Regions from separate parts of the Homo sapiens genome. Here region 1 is linked to region 2. Evidence: promoter capture Hi-C in human tissues and cell types (Jung and others, 2019). All regions are on one chromosome and are shown on one strand. Each heading gives the region's core, a stretch centred on a gene start or on the middle of the fragment in contact. The rest is flanking DNA. Distances are from core to core; before and after follow the strand shown. Region 1 overlaps ATP12A (ATPase H+/K+ transporting non-gastric alpha2 subunit). Region 2 holds the start of RNF17 (ring finger protein 17).

Evidence for each region. Contacts are between HindIII fragments. The study calls those that stand out against the background at their distance.
Region 1: a fragment that was not itself captured here is called in contact with the fragment with the promoter of RNF17 in region 2 in 3 of the 25 tissues and cell types used here (H1 embryonic stem cells, IMR-90 fibroblasts and aorta).

What each region holds. Positions count from the first base shown.
Region 1 is chr13:24,686,510-24,693,022 of GRCh38, reverse strand. It overlaps ATP12A (ATPase H+/K+ transporting non-gastric alpha2 subunit), which reads right to left. Exons shown (of 23, transcript NM_001676.7): 4 at 4,501-4,704; 5 at 3,648-3,761; 6 at 2,551-2,685; 7 at 2,302-2,419; 8 at 1,773-2,041; 9 at 396-594; 10 at 127-236. Among named protein-coding and RNA genes, the nearest start is that of ATP12A, 9.4 kb to the right of the region's middle. The HindIII fragment of the contact is 4,194 bases long and covers 2,312-6,505 here.
Region 2 is chr13:24,760,681-24,767,101 of GRCh38, reverse strand. RNF17 (ring finger protein 17) reads right to left here and starts at 2,933. Exons shown (of 36, transcript NM_031277.3): 1 at 2,769-2,933. The coding sequence starts at 2,898. The HindIII fragment of the contact is 17,753 bases long and covers 1-6,421 here.

The DNA of each region.
Region 1 (6,513 bases), core at 3,159-5,658, 76 kb after region 2:
ACTTGCTCTTGCAAGCACTGAACAAACTTTAAGCAACTGGAGAGATGAAATCAAGCACCCAATCAGACCTCAGCAAGTGACTACAAACTGGCTGTGATTTAAGACCAAGTGCTGCAGAAGCATTACCTTCATGATGGGGACATTTTCCTGTCCTGGCTTGAACTCTGCTCGGTTACACAATGTTATTATCTTGGATAAGGAGGCCCAAGTCCTAGAGCTTTGGTCAAAGACTTGGTCTGGAAGACAGAGAAAGAACAGTGGCTGCTGTGGGTTGGGCTGGCCGTCCATGAGTCACTGTCCAGCAATCCTCTGGCTGCAGACCCTGCTGTGTGCTCAGCTCAGCCCCAGGATGGAGTCCACAGCTTTGGCCAGACCGAGCTCTCCATAAGACTTACTTGAATGGTCCTCACTGGTGTCAGCCACAAAGATCTGATTGTCGAACCACAGATGGGCCACTGTCATCCTGTTCTGGGTCAGTGTCCCAGTCTTGTCCGAGCAGATGATGGAGGTGGAGCCGAGGGTCTCCACAGCCTCCAGGTTCTTCACCAGGCAGTTCTTCTTGGCCATCCGTTTTGCTGTCAGCGACAGGGTCACCTAGCAGGAGAGGGAAGGACGCTTTGGGAAAAATCCTCATTTGAACTCAGGTCCAATAATACAGAAATAGCCAATGTGAGCTGTGATTGAATTTTAGGAGAGAGCTGGACTAGTTTTAGGGGAGAGGTGTGGTTGTCAGCGCAGCTAAGCTGACCTGGTGGCTTATACGCCGCCAAGAGCCCTCTATGCCACAATCCTTTTTTAAAGATTAAATATGAGATGCTTTTCTTGTTCCTTCATGACTTGAAGAAAACAAGGGACCCACGGGCAGCAAACACGGACACGCTGCTGTGGCTCGTGTTCACGTACAATCACGACGCCTCCTGTGATCCCTAAGCAGGAGTGTGTAAGAGAGACTGACCAGTGCATGCCAAAGAGTTGTCCCAAAGGACACACTTGTTGCTTTGGGGAATTCAGCAGCCTTTATGTTGTTTCATTTTAAAAGCTCCATATTTTAAAGATTCTTTTAAACCCCTAGATCTCAAAGGGTTCTTTTGGCTCCAATTTCCCCAAATTACTATCTCCTGGAGTCAGAGGAGACCTGGACTTCAAAAACTTCTTCTCTTTTCTTTGGTCAGGACAATAGCAGGCCAATGATCATGTAGTCACAAAACTGGAAACATAAACCCCCTCCTCTCCTACCCCTTGAGACCCCCACAGGAGAGACTGAGGAGGAGGGGGCTCTTCTCTAGGGACTGAATGACATGGGCCCATACAAACAGCTGGGTCTGGGGTTGGCCAGGAAAGGGCTGGAGTCCTCGGCAGGAAAAATGGGAGGAATTTTTTTTTTTCGTAAGAGAGGTAAGTGGAGTGTGGCAATGTGCCTAAATGCCTAAGTTGTAGAAACTGCCAAAGAAATGTGCGGAAGGCATCAAGCTTCTAGAAAACCTGTGAATGGTGGAGTCTGTCTTATCTAGATCTTATGGGGCAGAGTAAGCTGTGTGAATTGCAGATTGAAAGCATAACGTTTTCAAGGAAAACGCAGTCAAATATTGAAAATATGACAAATTTTTTGTCTCTGTAAGGAACAGTCTATGCAGAATGTTCCAGGGTTGTCGCTGGCGGGGAGGGCGTGGTGCTCTGGACTTGGGGGAGATTGCAGTTTGTGTGGGCGCCTCCCCAGCACCAGTGCTGTGTCCACAGGGCCAGGTGCAGGCTGTCTAACAGCATGGACTCACAGTGACAGTGGCCAGGAGGCCCTCGGGCACATTGGCCACAATGATGCCAATGAGGAAGATGATGGAGTCCAGGACTTGATACTTCAGGGACACAGCGATGATGAAGAAAAGGATGCCGATGGAGACAGCCACTCCTGCCACAATGTGAACAAAGTGCTCGATCTCAATGGCAATGGGCGTCTTCTCATTTCCAACTCCTGAGGCCAATGAGGCAATATGGCCAATGATGGTGCGGTCACCCGTGTTGATAACCATGCCGGTGACAGTGCCTACAGGGGAAGTAGATGCTTTATTCCAGGGGTCCTCAGCCAGGAGGGGTGTGCAGCCAGCTTGCAGCCCTCTCTGGGGGCTGGCACAATCGATAGGCACACCACATTCCCAAGGCCAAGCATCGTCCTCTAGGCCCTTCAGTTCCATGCTTCCTCTGGGATGAGCTTTGTAACGGGGTGTGGCAAAGGACAGACCTGAGAGCCCAGGAGGGAGAAAGGACACAGGTGGACATGTGGGCTGAGAGCCAGAGGCCTTTTACCTTCCAGACACGTTGTGGAATAGAAGCAGATGTTCTTTGTTTCCAGGGGGTTTTCATGGGTAAACTCAGAGGAGCGGGGCTGGGGCTCAGACTCCCCCGTGAGAGATGAGTTATCCACCTAGAAGAAATGTTGAAGGTGGTTCACAGCTGGGTACCTCATTCCCTGCCTCTTATACTGATGCTGGGAAAGACCCCAGAGCCAGCAGGTTTGGAACATGGTCCTTGGGGTGGATACCCCTTGCCGCTTACCCGACACCCCTGAGAAGACAGCACCCTGATGTCTGCAGGGATCTGGTCTCCTCCTTTGACCTCCACAATGTCCCCCACCACCAGCTGCTCTGAAGGGATGGTCTTCTTCTCGGAATCTCGGATGACGAGAGCTTGCTGCAGAAAAAAACCATGACAGATGCCTCAGACCCTGGAAGGACACCGGCCCTCCCCCAAGTCTGTGCCGCACCGAACCCCAGGACAGAGGCCTTGGAACTTCCTGATCACTCTCACTGTTGAGTCCATGCTGTTATGCAGCCTGCACCTGGCCCTGTGGACACAGCATTGCTGCTGGAGCATGAGGCTGTCAGAACAGCAAGAATGAAACAGAAGACTGCTTCACCCGAGGCCTGAAGACTCTAAGAACTACTTTTTCTTGAGCTTATGGAGAGTTCTTGGAACAGAAGAGTCGCTGTTGGCCAGATCTGGCCAAGCCAGAGCCCTGGGCCTCCTAGAAAAGGAGACCACTAAGGGTGAGCAATCCTGGCTGGGCGTCTGGGCAGAACACTGAAGGTGGGGCTGGGGAGGCTGATAATCTTGCGAGTGTCAGGGAAATTTTAACGAGGTGATCTCCTGCTTCAAGCTTGGCAGGAGGCGTCTTTTCCACCCAGAATCTCTCCAGCCCACAGTTCTCTGGGCCAGAGACAGTGTGGACACCTGACAGGGGTTTTTGGGGAAGAAGGGAGCACTGGGCTTCCCCACCAAATGCATTCTGGGGCTCAGGAGCAAAAATGGTCACAGATAAACAATTGCAGGCTGGTCTCCTTGGCTGCCAGTGAAAGAACACTCCCTGACCTTCCACAGGTCCCTTCCAGAACCCAGAAGGACTATCCACAAACACTGAGGAGCAGGAACAGAAGATGCCTTGGGCTAACCAGCACTGCCCTGGGTGGTGCCTCATTTGACCATCAAAATCCTGTGAGGAACTGGGGTTCTGACAGATGGGTTAATTCGCCCACGATTGCTCCGACAGGGAAGGAAGTGGAAACCCGTAGCCCTCAGGGCCCTGTGCCCCTCCCAGCTGAGGCTTCCTCACCTGGGAGTCACCAGAGGCCAGAGGATAGGTGGCTGCCACTCACCTGAGGGATCATCTTATTGAAGCTGGACATGATGTTGGTGCTTTTTGCCTCTTGGTAATAAGCAAAGATCCCCGTTAAAATGACCACCAGACCAAGCACACAGCCCAAGTACACCTGGGTGAGAAGGAGGGCGTCAGTCAGAGAAACCAGCAGTGGGAAGCAGCCGGGCCCTGGGGCTAGAGCTCTCCACGGGAGGATGCAATGCTGGCAGTTACGCCCTGGTATAATTTACAGGCCATGGAATTCGCCCATGTTAAGTGCGCAACTTATTGATTTTTTTTTTTAAGTTTACAGAGCCATGACACCACCCTCCACCGCAGCCTCAGAGCATCTCCATCCTGCCTGGAGATCCCTCCGGCCCCTCTGCCGTCACTCCCTGCTCCTGTCCCATGCCCTGGCATCACCGATCTGGTTCCTGCTTCCAAGGATGTGCCTGTTCTGCACATTTCATGTCAATCCAATCCTATGACATGTAGCTTGTTGCCTCTGGCTTCTGTCTCTTGGCATCACGTTGGCCAATTCAGTTTTGTGGATTTGGTACTCATGTCTCGGCAGGCACAGCTGCTCTCCGTGTTAAAGGAAGAGGTTAGCTTGGGGGAGACAGAACCCCAAACTACTTCACATGGATGCAGATTTTCTCCCCCTTAAAAATTCAAGGTGTTTTGTGTATCCCTCTTCATGCCCACACTGCCTCTAGAAGATCAGAAAGCCAGATAGAATTTCTGTTTTACAGCTGGGAAAATGCCTGACTTTCCCACACCTAGGCAGTGGCATTCAGCCCCCAGCTGTGCCCCCAAGGCCTCACTGGATGGCTCTGCCAGCAAAACCAGGAGGGGACACCCCAGAGCCTTACGTTGTTCAGGGATGCAGACTTGTCGCTGGAGTACTGAATCCCATATGCAATCCAACAGAGAAAGGCGCCCACCCACAGGAGGATAGAGAACCCCCCCACCATCTGCTTGAGGAACTTGACGATCTCAGGCGTCTGCTTGGGAGGGGTGAGGGAGTTGGGCCCATCCCGGGCCAGGAGCTCGGCAGCTCTGGTGCTGGAGAGACCCTGGGAAAGCCAAACAAAGCACATGCACAACCAAAACAAATACGAATTAGACATTCCTCCTCCCTCAGGGGTTGGGCTGCATATTTTTGCAGCTTGGGGTGAGGCATTAACGTGGCCAAAGAAGGTCCCGAGAAAAGCAGACCGTGCCTCACTTCTCCAGCTGCCCAGCTTTTTTGAAAGACTATGTAATGCTTAATACCAGCCAGGCACTGTGCTCTGTATATTCACTCATTTAGTCTTTAAAATAACCCTTGAGGCAGGGGCCATTATTCCTCCCTCTCGTCATTCGCAGAGGTGGAATTTGAGGCACAGAGAAATTACGTAACCTGTCGAAGGGACCTGGCCTGTCAATGGTAGCGACCAGGTTCAACGTGGTGACTGGGTCCAGAGCCACTGCACTCTGCTCTGCTAAGGGGTTTTAGTTTCTTAGAGGTTTATCCGGTGAGAGGACTAATTTGATGAAGGAGGACTTGGAATGAAGAAGCTGCTCACCAGGGCTAAGGGCAATGCAGTAACTCCCCAGGAAATAGGGAAGCTTCTGGAATCCTGCACAGAGAGCATGTGGCTTTAGTTTCCATCCTTACGCCTGCTCCTTTTCCACCTTTCTACACATCCAGCCTAAGTTCTCATTCATCTTGACAGGCATAAATCCTACCCAAGCCCTGAGCCCATGTGAGCAGCCCCTGCCCTGGGGGGCCTGCCATCCGTGAGGCACCCTCACCTTTGAAACCCTACATGTTCACAGGAATTTCCCCCACAGACGATCTTTGGTGGACAAGTCTGTAGATACCTCTTCTCCCTAATTATGTTGTAAGCTACTTAAAGGGCAGGACTCTGTCTTGGTCTTTTTTTTTTGAGACAGAGTCTCGCTCTGTTGCCCAAGCTGGAGTGCACTGGTGCGATCTCGTCTCACTGCAACCTCCTCCTCCTGGGTTCAAGCGATTCTCCTGCCTCAGCCTCCCAAATAGCTGGGATTACAGGCAGCGGCCACCACACTTGGCTAATTTTTAAAATATTTTTAGTAGAGACAGGGTTTCACCACGTTGGCCAGGCTGGTTTCGAACTCCTGACCTCAAGTGATCTGCCCACCTTGGCCTCCCAAAGTGCTATGATTACAGACCTAAGCCACCATGACAGGCCAGTCTTGGTCATTTTTGTGTTCTCTCCCGGGTCTCATGCTTTTTCTGTGGTAGTGATTCAAATATCTGTTGAATGGCTAGATTCAGGCTCACCACCTCGATCCCATCTCCCTCCACTCCAATTCCTTTTCCAGAACCCCAGACTCATCTTTCTGAATAACTGTGGAACATTTCCTCAGGGGTGTTCCGGAGAGACTTCTCCTGGTATAACTCACAATAAGTTCATCATCGCCTCCACCCTCCTGCCTTCCCTGCTCTCACCTCCCTGCCCCCACCCCAGCCCATCACCCGACCGGCTCTCCTCCTCCTGCTGCTGTGACATGACTAGCGAGATGAGGGGCTCAATAAAAATCCCCGCAAGTCCTGCTGGTTGTGTCTCTCTGCAATTTCTTTCTTTCTTTCCTTCCTTCCTTCCTTCTTTCTTTCTTTCCTTCTTTTCTTTCGACAGAGTCTCGCTCTGTCGCCCAGGCTGGAGGGCAGTGGCGCGATCTCCGCTCACTGCAAGCTCCGCCTCCCAGGTTCACGCCATTCTCCTGCCTCAGCCTCCCGAGTAGCTGGGACTACAGGCGCCCGCCACCGTGCCCGACTAATTTTTGTATTTTTAGTAGAGACGGGGTTTCACCGTGTTAGCCAGGATGGTCTCGATCTCCTGACCTCGTGATCCGCCCGT
Region 2 (6,421 bases), core at 1,684-4,183:
GTGTCCCAACACACCCGGCTAATTTTACTGAAGAAATTCTATTGTGATTAAACTGCCCACAGTGTGTTAATGTTGAATGGGCAATACTGATACAAGGGAAATTCAAAGAGGATCCTACTGTACAGGAAAAGATACCTACTACAGTTTGAAATGGTTGACTTATTGAATATAAATCAGGAGTAACCAACTATTCAGGTCAGGAGGGAGAAAAATCAAGAAGAAAAACCAAGAAGAGCTATGTAATAGCATTTGCATTAATTCAGATGGCTATTTTGTACCTAGAATACTTTGAATCTGCCATATCTTACACAAAGTGCTCTGACACATTTTATTTGTTATTTGTAAATATCACAGTTAAGTGGGCTGGAGATGAAATAGCATTTTGGAGATTTGGTTAACTAAATGGTATAATCCAGACTCCTATCTAGCTCTGTTTCCAAGTCTAACATTCTTTCTGATTGATCATACTGCCCTCTACTACTTTATATTTCCCATCCTGTGAAGAGGTCAGGAAGGGCCAAAATGAGACACTGGCAAGACCGTGCTGTTAGAATTATTTAAGACACTGGCAAGGCCAGAAGCCAGATGCTACTATTATCACATATCTACAACTCACATTTTCACAAACTTAGCATTTATGAAAGGAAATATCGTAACTTGATTGAAAACCTAACATCATGATTAAATGCTCTAAGAATTTGAAGTTTATAATAAATAACATTTGTTTTAGCTATATAATTTCAAAAGGTTGTCATTTTTAAAGTTTTGCAAGAAAACTGAAAAGGGAAAAAAACTAGATAAAAATCAGTCATCTTTTACTAGCAAAATAATTATAGAGTTCTTGCTGAATTATAATCGCATTAATTTTATTTATTTATTTATTCATCCATTCATTCACTCATTCTGAGACGGACCACGATCTCGGTTCACTGCCAACTCTGCCTCCTGAGTTCATGCTATTCTCCTGCCTCGGCCTCCGGAGTAGCTGAGATTACAGGTGTGCGTCAGCACGCCTAGCTAATTTTTTTGTATTTTTAGTAGAGATGGGATTTCACCATGTTGCCTAGGCTGGTCTTGATCTCCCGACCTCAAGTGATCCGCCCACCTCGGCCTCCCAAAGTGCTGGGACTATAGGCGTGAGCCACTGTGCCCGGCCTTGCATTAATTGTATTTTTTAAAAACTTTACAAGTTTCCTATCCAACTGAAATACCTGAAACTTGCTTACAACCATGCTAAATTTTAAAACCCTATTTAACTTCCAGGGATAATATTGCCAAAGAAATAAAAACACTTAACTATTATAAAATTTCTGATACTGAATAACTCAAAATAACTTGTGGTGAATTACAGCTTAAAAAGCACTTTCAGGATTCTATATACATAACCACTACTTCTCCAGTTTAGTTTTTCTAAGCATTATAATACTAATGTATGGAAGAAGTACTCATTTTAAAAGGTTGTGTTCTAGAACTTTATTCCGTAATTTTAATTTCATTCAAAAATGGAAATTTTCTACGTAACGGTAGCAGTGATCTAAACCCCAAGTAGGAGAAACTTGGTTCTCCACTGAAATCACAACTTTTTCTGCAGAGGCTCACATCTCACAGAGTCCATCTTGCCAAGACTGAGAAAACTGATCGAATGACCTTAACTTTGAAAGTATAAACATTAAACAGTTACGCCAGGTAATACGAATTTTCAGTAGCTCCAGGAATTGAGATTCAACAACTCAGCTGTATTAAGAGCACACTAAGGTATTTTAAGTTACATTAAAATAACTTGAACCGGCCGGGCGCGGTGGCTCACGCCTGTAATCCCAGCACTTTGGGAGGCCAAGACGGGCGGATCACGAGGTCAGGAGATCGAGACCATCCTGGCTAACACGGTGAAACCCTGTCTCTACTAAATATACAAAAAATTAGCCGGGCGTGGTGGCGGGCGCCTGTAGTCCCAGCTACTCCAGAGGCTGAGACAGGAGAATGGCGTGAACCTGGGAGGCGGAGCTTGCAGTGAGCCGAGATCGCGCCACTGCACTCCAGCCTGGGCTACAGAGCGAGACTCCAACTCAAAGAAAAAAATAATAATAAATAACTTGAACCTGTGATCACTTGAGTAGATTGTAGGTGAACAGACCAATAATAGTGCAGTGTATTTTTCCCCTCACGTATAAAGACCAACACACACACACACACACACACACACACACACACACCCCACAAGGTGCACAAAAGAAACTATCATTTTCCAAACAGTGTTTTAGGCCAGTGTGAGCCATAATGTAAAAAACAAACAAAAAAACCCCCACAGAAACAACAAAATGCTAACAACAACAACAAAATCCAAAACCATTTCACAATGGTCTACTTGTTACTCCTACAACAAAAACTACAGGAGAAAATCAAGTTTCGTTCCTTCTTGATGACAAAACAATGGGCTACATTTTATGTCTACTTTTGCATGCACCCGCTAACCTGCCTTGTGAGGAGTAGATTAAAGCCACCCGGGCCCCCATCCTCCCGGCTGGAGGGTCGGTGAGGCCTGGATGGGTAATTGGAGAAAGCCGTGACAGGCGCAGGTGCTGCCCTTAACCAACCCAAGCACTGCCCTCTTAGAGGTCGGGTGCAGCTCGCGGGAGGCCTGTGACGCAGTTTCTGGTGACACCAGGATTGGATGCAGCTGACCAAGCCTCACGCGCCCACCAGCTCACCTGGCCCCCAGCGCTCCCTCCAGGCTGCCTCCCCGCTAGGTGGGCCCTTGGGCTCCTCACCGGATGATCTGGATACCCTCCTTCCACACCTGGTGCACTGGATTTCAGCGGCACCCCAGGGCTGACTCTTCCTCCCCATTCGCTGGTAGGAAGACCTAGAAGGCCCAGTCTTCGAAGCCTCTGCCGCCATCGCTGTCTCTTTCTTCTGGAACAACCGCCGAGTGCGAGTCCCGGCGGCCCTCGCGGCAGCGACCAATCATTGGAGGCCAGCCCCTGCAGATAGCCAAACAGTGGGCCGGGAGATTAAAGCCCGCCCCCAAGCTCGCTCCTGATGGGGCTGGGGCTGTTTTCCGTTATCCTGGGAGGTACCACTCCTAGAAGGGGCGCCTTGTGGCCGTTGAGGACCGTTCGTTTTTACGTTCTACCCAAAGAGTCACCACTTTAGTGCTTTTAGTCATCACAAATTAAAATTTCGCATATTATTACTTACATTGTGAGTGACTTTATAGATAATCATTTGGATTGAAACAATCCCCTTTCCCTATTACGTGTCAGGGCCAGAAGCCCTAAACCTGTGTGCTTCGGGCATCCAGGGCTTGGCCAATAGCAGCTGGAGTGGAGAAGCTAATGAGAAGCTATCGTTGGGGTAGATTCAGTGAACGCTTTCGAATTAAGGAGTGTTCATCATTACTAACTGCTGTTGAGCCTAATAATATACAAGGCAGCGTGCCAAGAGTGGTTGGGGATGCTAAGAATTTATGAACTAGCAGGTTTCTGCTTGAGAGATACATAACTCCTTAAAAAAACCCAGTAACTTCCGCCAAAATAAGTGTTATGTACCGGACCTGTGTTAGAGACAGTAAGAATTAGCCTTCTGGGCCCGGCGCGGTGGCTCACGCCTGTAATGCCAGCACTTTGGGAGGCCAGGGCGGGCAGATCACGAGGTCAGGAGATCGAGACCATCCTGGCTAACATGGTGAAACCCTGTCTCTACTAAAAATACAAAAAAAAAAAAAAAAAAAAATTAGCCGGACGTGGCGGTGGGCGCCTGTAGTTCCAGCTACTTGGGAGGCTGAGGCAGGAGAATGGCGTGAACCTGGGAGGCGGAGCTTGCAGTGAGCCGAGATCATACCACTGCACTCCAGTCTGGGCGACAGAGCGAGACTGCGTCTCAAAAAAAAAAAAAAAAGAGTTGAAGCAACTTGTCCAAGCATAGTTCACAAAAAGCAATGAAGAAATGAAGTCAATATGGTCTACGGTGGTATGAAAACTCTTCGTAGAGGATATAGGGTTTGCACTAGACCTTACAACCTAGGTAGTACTTACAGGAGTAAACAAGAACTAAGGGATTCCAAGAATAAAGAACACATCAGCGAGGGAAGGTAGATGTGAGGGAAGGTAGATGGAAGACACAGTGACTTCTTGAGAATTTAAAGACCATTTAGCCAGAGTATGAGTTTCCTTAAAGTAAGCTTCTTTGGAGAGGTGTGTCAGGGAAGAATTTCGGAGAATCTCGAGTGTAAGGCTGAGGAGTTTGGACTTTACTCTTTAAGCAGTAGAGTGCATGAGACGTTTTGTGAGCAAGGAATGAAGTAATCTAGTAGAAAGGTGGCAGGTGTATTTCAAACAAAACACCTGGAGGTGGCACGGTTGCCTTTTGCTGCTAAGAATAAAGCCTGCCCATATTCCTCATTTTCTTTTCTCTCTACACTGTGTGTGGGTAACTAGAAACTGTGAAGTAAGTATTCTCTTGAAAGGCTCACTTCGGCTCAAAAATCTTTGTAATTTGTTGTCTTCGAGAGAAAAGTACTGCTTCCCTAAATTACCCTCATTCTACTACTCATCCAATAGTTTCCACTACTAATCCATGATGGAACTGAGTACTAATCAAGCCAATATTCTCATGTAACATGTTGACTCTTCTACAGTTTTGTGAGTATTATTCCCTATTCCCCTCATCTGGAATACCTACTGTTCACTCTTCATCAATTCATATTCTCTTTTTTTTTTTTTTTTTTTTTTTTAGAAATGGAGTCTTGCTCTGTCGCCCAGGCTGGAGTGCAATGGCGAGATCTCAGCTCACTGCAACCTTGGTCTCCGGGTTCAAGCAATTCTCCTGTCTCAGCCTCCCCAGTAACTGGGACTACAGGCGCATGCCACCACGCCCAGCTGATTTTTTGTATTTTAGTATTGACTGGGTTTCACTGTGTTGCACAGGCTGCTCTCAAACTCCTGAGCTCAGGCAGTCTGCCCGCCTTAGGCCTCCCAAAGTGCTAGGATTACAGGCGTGAGCCACCGCGTCCGGCCCATATTCTCCTTATCCTTCCTGGATCAGCTTTAGAAGCACTTTCTCCTTTAAACCTTCACATTTCTCTCCACACTTAATGCTATTCTAGCATGTAGCAAGCCTCTTTTTCCTCTAGGATAGCTGTACTGTAATTTGAATAATGACAATCTCATTGCATAGGTGTTCATCGTGGGCCATAATGTGGATATTTAATGTGGGTCTTGAGTTTCATCAGAGATGCCTTTGGTAATCCCAGAAATTGAATTAATCTTGGATAAATCAGGGCCAGTGAGAAATACACTGATAGATGATTATACCACATTTGTTCATTTCTTAGCACTTACCAAGAACCCTCAAATAGAGCAGCCAGAAATGTCTTCTTAACATTCAATTTAGGTTGTTTAAATCCTTTGTTTGGAACCCTTTAATGGCTTCCTATGAATTACAACAAAACCTTAATGGCCTTGGAGGTTTGCCCTCTGCCTGCCTCTCTACCAGTGCCTTTCTAGTGCTCTAAAATCATCTCCTAAACAGCTGAGAAATGAGATAAACAGGGCTCCCTTCTTGAATACACAATTTTTATAAATTGCATCTGACCCACAGTGAATGTCTTTTAGAAAGTTTCACCAAAACTAAAGAGAAATTCAGAGATCAAATAGCAGCAGCAGATCAGAGAAAGAATGTAGAACTATGCAGTCACAGAGCTAACCTGCAGGCTGCCCTTAGCCCTGTGCACCTGAAATCAAATCCATGGTCAAAGTTAGGTTTCTTTGTTGTTGTTAAGCATATAACATATTTATTCCCAACATAAGAGTGGGATTAATAGAATAACACCAAGCCAAAATATTAATATTCTAAAACCAAATTATTGAATAGAAACATATAACATATTTATTCCCACCATAAGAGTGGGATTAATAGAATAACACCAAGCCAGAATTTTAATATTCTAAAACCAAATTAATCTATTGAATAGACGTATTTCAACATTTAACTAAGTTAACCCATTCAGTTACCTTCTCGAAAATATACACAACAAATAATTTATACTGTTTCCCATAATGGCTGTACTAATTTACATTCCCACTAACTGTATAAGGGTTCCCTTTTCTCCATATCCTTGCCAACAGTTGTTATCTTTTGTCTTTTTTTTTAAATAATCTCCATTCTAATACCGTCTGTAATTTCTCATTGTGGTTTTAATTTGCATTTCCCTGATGATTAGTGACATTGAGCATGCTTTCATATACCTATTAGCCATTTGTATGTCATCTTTTGAGAAATGTCTATTTAGGTCCTTTGCTCACTTTCTGTTTGAGTTGTTTTCTTCCTACTGAGTTGTTTATGTTCCTTATGTATTTTGGATATTAACCCCTTACCAGATGTATAGTTTGCAAATATTTTCTCCCATTCCATAGGCTCTTTA